Linked DNA regions of Homo sapiens: region 2 is linked to region 1. Evidence: promoter capture Hi-C in 16 types of primary human blood cells and fetal thymus (Javierre and others, 2016). All regions are on one chromosome and are shown on one strand. Each heading gives the region's core, a stretch centred on a gene start or on the middle of the fragment in contact. The rest is flanking DNA. Distances are from core to core; before and after follow the strand shown.

Evidence for each region. Contacts are between HindIII fragments. The CHiCAGO score rates a contact against its expected background, and 5 or more counts as called.
Region 2: a fragment that was not itself captured here is called in contact with the fragment with the promoter of HSD17B3-AS1 in region 1 in 2 of 17 cell types (M0 macrophages and M2 macrophages); the score reaches 6.3 in M0 macrophages.

Annotation. Positions count from the first base shown.
Region 1 is chr9:96,244,725-96,247,967 of GRCh38, forward strand. HSD17B3-AS1 (HSD17B3 antisense RNA 1) reads left to right here and starts at 1,739. Exons shown (of 3, transcript NR_146524.1): 1 at 1,739-1,885; 2 at 2,499-2,611. It overlaps HSD17B3 (hydroxysteroid 17-beta dehydrogenase 3), which reads right to left. Exons shown (of 11, transcript NM_000197.2): 7 at 1,832-1,866; 8 at 621-702. It overlaps SLC35D2-HSD17B3 (SLC35D2-HSD17B3 readthrough), which reads right to left. Exons shown (of 26, transcript NR_182427.1): 22 at 1,832-1,866; 23 at 621-702. The HindIII fragment of the contact is 9,340 bases long and covers 1-3,243 here.
Region 2 is chr9:95,729,860-95,733,102 of GRCh38, forward strand. No RefSeq gene overlaps it. Among named protein-coding and RNA genes, the nearest start is that of ERCC6L2, 140 kb to the right of the region's middle. The HindIII fragment of the contact is 2,090 bases long and covers 610-2,699 here.

The sequences.
Region 1 (3,243 bases), core at 489-2,988:
TCACAACATATACATATATTAAAATATCACCTTGCATACTATAAATAGACACAATTTTTATTTGTCAAGTACGCCTTAATAAAGCTGGAGAGTGGGGCAGAAAGAGGGTAAGGGAAAAAATGAACCAGCTTGCCTTGATGGGAGTTAGCACTTCATCCCCCGGTCTGGGAAGAGGACCTCCCACTCAGCAGGAAAATCTGTTTTGGGATAAATCCATCCCTAGGGCCCCTGCATAGATTAACCTCCCTTGTACAGCGCCCCCTCCTCCTCAGGCTGTTTTTATGACTAGGGCATGGGGACACCAGGCTAGATCTCCCAGTCTGGAAGGAAGCTACAGTGTCACTTGTCAGCAGGAAGATGGCAAGGGCTCCCAGAGGAGGTGAGTGGGGCAGGCATCCCCGGAGGCTGGCCAAGTTGTGCACCGCAGGGCTTCGTGTGCCCAGAGCAGGTGCTTTATTCTAATTTTCTCTTGGACTTCCCAGTGAGTAGCTCAGCCCTGCACATAAGAGAGCATCTCCAGGTAAACCTTTCCATCAACTTGCCAGATGATCAAAGGAAATTGCCAACTGGGAGAAATAAGAGGAAGAAGGAAGAGACTTGGAAGTCATGACATCACTCACCTTGGAAGCTGAGTACATGGAGTAGAGAGGCCAAGGAAACAGGGCTATCCCAGAAGAAATGTTCAGGATGAGACCTTTCTGCCTGAAAGGCAAAGAAGCAAAGTTCCCATGGCTTTGTTGCCCTACCTGACCTTGAGTACAAAGAAAACAAAGGGTCCCGTGTGAACACTGCCGGACTCGACCCTTTCTAGGCTTCCGCAAGTGCTAGGGGCTCTGCTTCTAGGAATGGTAAGTGAACTTCCCCTACCTTCCCCTGGAGGGCGCCACACAGAGATGTCTGGATTTCCGCCGCACAGTGATGCCACCTGGCAGTCATGTGACATCATATAATGTGAGGGGCTTGCTCTTGGAAACAGGCTGTGCTACAACTGAGGTCTCTCCACCAAAATACTGATAACCAGCTCAGCTCAGGATTTAAGGGGAGAGAATCCTTCTCCCTTAAATGTGACCACATGAGCTGCCGGTCCCTTTGGACTCAGGACCCACAGCTGGACAGATGTCACATGGTGGAATATTGTCTTGGATAGAATTTCACAGTACAGGACCTGCTCACACAGATACCCTATGCAAGTCTCCAGGAGCCTTACTTGTCCTTTTGAAATTTAATATTCTTAATCCTTCCCAATTAGACGGATACAATGGAGGGGCAGGGGACAAGAAACTGCAAATTAGAATCCAAGGCCAAGCCCCTTCTTCCTCTAGGGAAGATAAGCTATCAAGCATTTGCTTTTAATGAACACACCTGAGAAAAACCAACTCCCAAATGGGCATTGGAATAGGGTGACATAAATATGGAATAAGTGGAGGAGCTGACAGGGCAGTGATTTTCACAATAAATTGGAGTATTCTCTCTGACAAAAGCTGAAATTCCTAACAAAGAGATGGTCTTGATCTCGGGCCAACTTCTGAAGTTTTCTTTTACACTCAACATTAGTTAATTTTTCTTTAATCCAGTGTGTGCTGAAACTGCCGTTCTCTTCCTCCCTCCAATGTGTGTTACGTTTGACCTTCACATGAGCTTGTCTGTCTGCAGAGCTGGCCTGGCCCAGAACGTTATGTTTTTTTTCCCATAATCACCGTGTGCTTTCATCATAGCTGTTATCGTTTGTTAAAGCACAGCCAGATGGACTCTGTGTCCCCAGTCCCTGAGTTAGCTGACCGCCAGGGCAGGGAGGCCATGTTGCTCCACACTTTTTTGAAGAAGGCCTTACCTTGATTCCATATGTTTCAGAATTAGCTGTGTCATCTACAAGAGAAGGCCAAAGGTAAGCCCGACAAGGAACTAAGTAGCAGTGCAAGGGGGCGGGATGGAAACAGGGAAGGGAGCGCGGGAGGAAGCTGGGAAAGAGCCTCATCTTCTCAGACGGCCTTGAAAATTGCTGGCACTCATTGGAGGTCACTCTGGCCACATTAGAGTCTGCCTGGAACCCACAGGAGCCAACCTAGACAAATGACAGGCTGCTCTGGGGCCTCTGATTTCTTCCCCCTAAAGCTAATGTCTTCCTGGAAAATGAGGGCAGTGAAAAATTGGGGGAATTGGCTTACAGCTGTGGGACCAACACTGAGGTTCCCATGATACTCTTCATTCTGTGGGACAGGCAAAAGTGGACTGGCCATGAGTTGGAATTGGGGAACTATGGGGAAACCTAACAAGACTCTGTAGAGAGAAGGACACCTCTTTGATTCAACAGCAACCGCTTACGCAGCCTGCAGCTAGGCTATGAAATAGCTCCGTGGACACAGTGCATGGCCACTCCTGTGTATTGGAATTACAAGAGCCTTGAGAGGCCCCTTCCCCCTCCCAGCCTAGAGACCCCTGAAAAGGTCTTCTCTGCCATTTCAGGAGCCTAAAAGAACTTTTTGTTTCAAAATTACAAGGTACACATTTTACAAATGAAGGAAGAGGCAACCCCATGGACTGAAATGTTCTCTGAAGTAGAATTGACCGCAATCAGGCCTGGCAGGCCTGGAGCAGATCCTGACTGCAGCAGGTTTGAGACAAGGGACCCAAGTGAAAGGAGAGGGGTGGAGACATCAAGGCACCTGGGGACCGGAAGACACAGGCTGCCCATTTCTCCATGCTGTCCAGGGGCCCTGCAGCAGCTCCTCAGAGGTGCCCACTCCCAGGCCAGGCCCCAGCCTGTCTCAGAGCCTCCAGGGAATGTCTTCGCTGCTGGGGGGCCAGGGGGCCAGGGCAGTGGAGGGGGTGGGGCTCTCTAGAACCACTGGGCTGCCTCTGCAACACTGGATTTTGGGGAAGAAGAGGGAGGATGAGGGGCGAGATAGTGTCAGACCGCTTTCCGTGAATGACTTCATAGGGATATTATATGAGCCTTGTCAGCCAGCACCCACATTGCCTCGAAGCCTCCCGAATGAACTCACTAGCCCTGTTGGCTGAATGATCCCAATGAGAGAGACAACACTGAATCTCGTGGGTCCCCGCCTCAAGGCTTCCAATGTTCAGTTTCTTATTCCACCTTCCCTTTGCCCTCAAATGCATATTCTCCCATCCCTGCCCCGAAAGAGAACTCGACTATCTCCAGACGGCTTCTTTAAAATAGTGCAGCTTCACTAGTCATGCTTCTAACCAGCATGGTTCACTGGGGCGTGGTATACTTAGAAG
Region 2 (3,243 bases), core at 405-2,904, 510 kb before region 1:
GTTATGTAAAATGGACCAATCAGCACTCTGCAAAATGGACCAATCAGCACTCTGTAAAATGGGCCAATCAGCAGGATGTGGGCAGGGCCAAATAAAGGAATGAAAGCTGGCCACCCCAGCCAGTAACAGGAACGTGCTGCAGTAGTGGGAACGTTTGTAGAAGGTTTGTTCTTTCAGTCCTCACAAAAAATCTTGCTGCTCACTTTTTGGGTCTGTGCCATCTTTAAGAGATGTAACACTCACTGCGAAGGTCTGCAGCTTCATTCTTGGAGTTGGTGAGACTACGAACTCTACAGCAGGAAGAAAGAAACTGCGGACTCAATAGGGTCTCTGTTGCAACTGCTGGAGTTCAAGTCCCAAAGCAGCCAGACACACAGAATCAGGAAGGTTATGGGTGTGGCTGTGCTTCAATAAAGCTTTATTTACAAAACTGAGATCACAGTTTACCAACCCATGATGTAATTTTCTAAAACACAAGTCCTATTTTTATTGGTGTCATAAATTATTTTTTTCTAAAAAAAAAAAAAAAAAGTAGTATTCTATGGGTTTCTTCTTGTAGGTGATGACCTGTAAAGGCACTATCTCCTGTTTCCTTTCGATTGACCTTAAAGCTTCATTTCCTAGCCGCTGTGAATCCTGCATTGGATAAGGCCAGTTACTGTTTACACACCTTTGTCTAGGACGTTTTTAAGGCACATGCTCTGCAAGGCACATTCGCCTGAGGTATTTTTTTTGCAAGTTCTCTTTGTTCTCTTTGCAAGTTAAAGTAATGAAGCCATATTTACAGCATCTTCAAATGTAATATCACCTAAGAATTTTAACGCATGAACTCTGAAAAATTGATTCTATGATTTTGGTGCCCTCATTGCCAGGCAGGCTGTGCTAAGAAGCAAAGGTCGCCGGCAGTGGCTCAGCCTGTAATCCCAGCCCTTTGGGAGGCTGAGGCGGGTGGAGCACGAGGTCAGGAGATTGAGACCAGCCTGGCCAACATGGTGAAACCCCGTCTCTACTAAAAACACAAAAATTAGCTGGGCGTGGTGGCACACCTGTAATCTCAGCTACTCGGGAAGCTGAGGCAGGAAAACCGCTTTAACTGGGGAGTCGGAGGTTGCAATGAGCCAAGATTGCACCTCTGCACTCCAGCGTGGGCTACAGAGTGAGACTCTATCTCAAAAAAAAAAAAAAAAAAAAAAAAAAAAAAAAAAAATTCAAGGAGAGAAAAGAAATCTTTGCCAAAAGATTTCTTGTGAGACTAAAAAGATGTTGTATAGATCCCAAATCCATGGCATGAGGAAGAACAAAAACTGATGACCTAGAACCTTGCCCGTGCGCCTGTCTCCTCCCCGGCTCACACTGGAGAAGACGTAGGATGTGCTCAGCTATTTGTCTCTCCTGCAAAATGGTGGTGCAGTCATCGCTTCTGAAACTATTCATTTAAGATAGGTTAATGACAACAGAAGTAGCTTAAACAAGATGAAAGTTTATTTCTCTCACATGAAGAGGAGACTAAAATGTAACACTCCAAGCCTGGTGTGGAAGCTCTTTGGTATCCCCAGGAACCCAGGCTCCTTTCTTTTCATTGCTACCTTCTAAGCCTATGACTTCCACCTCATGATCCAACATGGCTACCCAAGCTGCAGCCCTCCTCATTATCTCCATTCCAGTCAGCAGAAAAAATGACAAGGAAGGACACATGTTATTGACCAGCATTTCATTTCCTGGTCACATCTAGCCATAAGAGACGGTGAGGAATATGGATGTGGACTTTTTTTTTTTTTTTTTTTTTTGAGACAGAGTCTCGCTCTGTCACCAGGCTGGAGTGCAGTGACGTGATCTTGGCTTACTGCAACCTCTGCCTCCCAGATTCAAGCGATTCTTCGGCCTCAGCCTCCCGAGTAGCTGGGACTACAGGCACATGCCACCCCGCCCAGCTAATTTTTGCATTTTTAGTAGAGACAGGGTTTTACCATGTTGGCCAGGATGGTCTCGATCTCTTGACCTCGTCATCTGCCCCTCTCAGCCTCCCAAACTGCTGGGATTACAGGCTTGAGCCACCGCGCCCGGCCAGAATGTGGACTTTTTAGGTGGGTAACAATGTGCCCAGATAAAAGTTGGGATTCTTTCATTAAAGAAGAGGATAGTGGGTATTGGGAGACAGCCACAGAGGGAGACTGTTATTTATCTAATAATGACACAAAAATATAATGATGAGTCATGAGAAGTGCTATGAAAGAGATAAAGAACTACTGAAGTGGATAAAAAGCTATGTTTGCAGGGGCAAGGAGTGTTTAAGAAATGCTACCCTTAAAAAGGGGACTCTCAGCTGATACTTGATTCATGAGTGGGTTTTATCCAGGTATAGAAACAGGAGGAAGAGCATTCCTGGCAGAGGGCACAGCACATGGGAATCCCATGAGTCTAGGGGGAATGTGGTGGTGTAGTCCAGGGTTGTTGGGGGGCGCACTCAGGGGCAGCTCCAGATTATCAGGAACTTTAGGAGTCATGTTACAAGTTGTGAATTTGATTTAGTAAATCATCTGGTAAAGGACTGAGTGTGGGGAGTGGTGAGGGAAAAGAGTGTGCTCCAGGTAAAATGGTTAACACTGAGCACTGTCAGCCAAGAAATCCCATGCATGTTAGTTATTAGCCATGGGAGTCTCTCTAATCCATAGGAGACAAGGGCTTCCAGCTGCTAATGAAGCTTCTTGTTTAGGATCAGAGAGTCACAGAATGAGAAGATGGGTTTCTCAGAGCAGGTTTTTCTCTATTTGCTACGTAATGAAGTTCAACAGAAGTAGAGGTCTGTTGATAAGCCACTTCTACTGGCTAGGAGCAACCAGGAAAAAACTGGAAACAAGAGAATGAAAGGAATGAGAATTGTTCTAGTGAAAGGAGGAGACTTATTCCTCAAATCTGCACCTATTTTAGGTGGTATGTTATCTTTGGGCTCAGGTGAAGCTGACTTATTCCAAAATCAGTTTAAAATTTAGAGTGAACCACTGGGCTTCTGAACTTCCAGACTGGGAGAAGTTTAGGTTCATCGAAGCTTCCTGAGTTTTTAGTTGGAAATGAAGCCTGTTTGTCTGAATTGCTGATCCACCCCTGATCCCAGGAAGTTGGCCTGTGCCTTTGAGGTCACTGCTGGACTCGGGTGAAAATTACAAGCTTAAGACAGAAATAAACTGTCATTTCCTTGTAAATCAAACAACACTGATGGAGCAAAGCAAAAGTTCAAGGGTCATC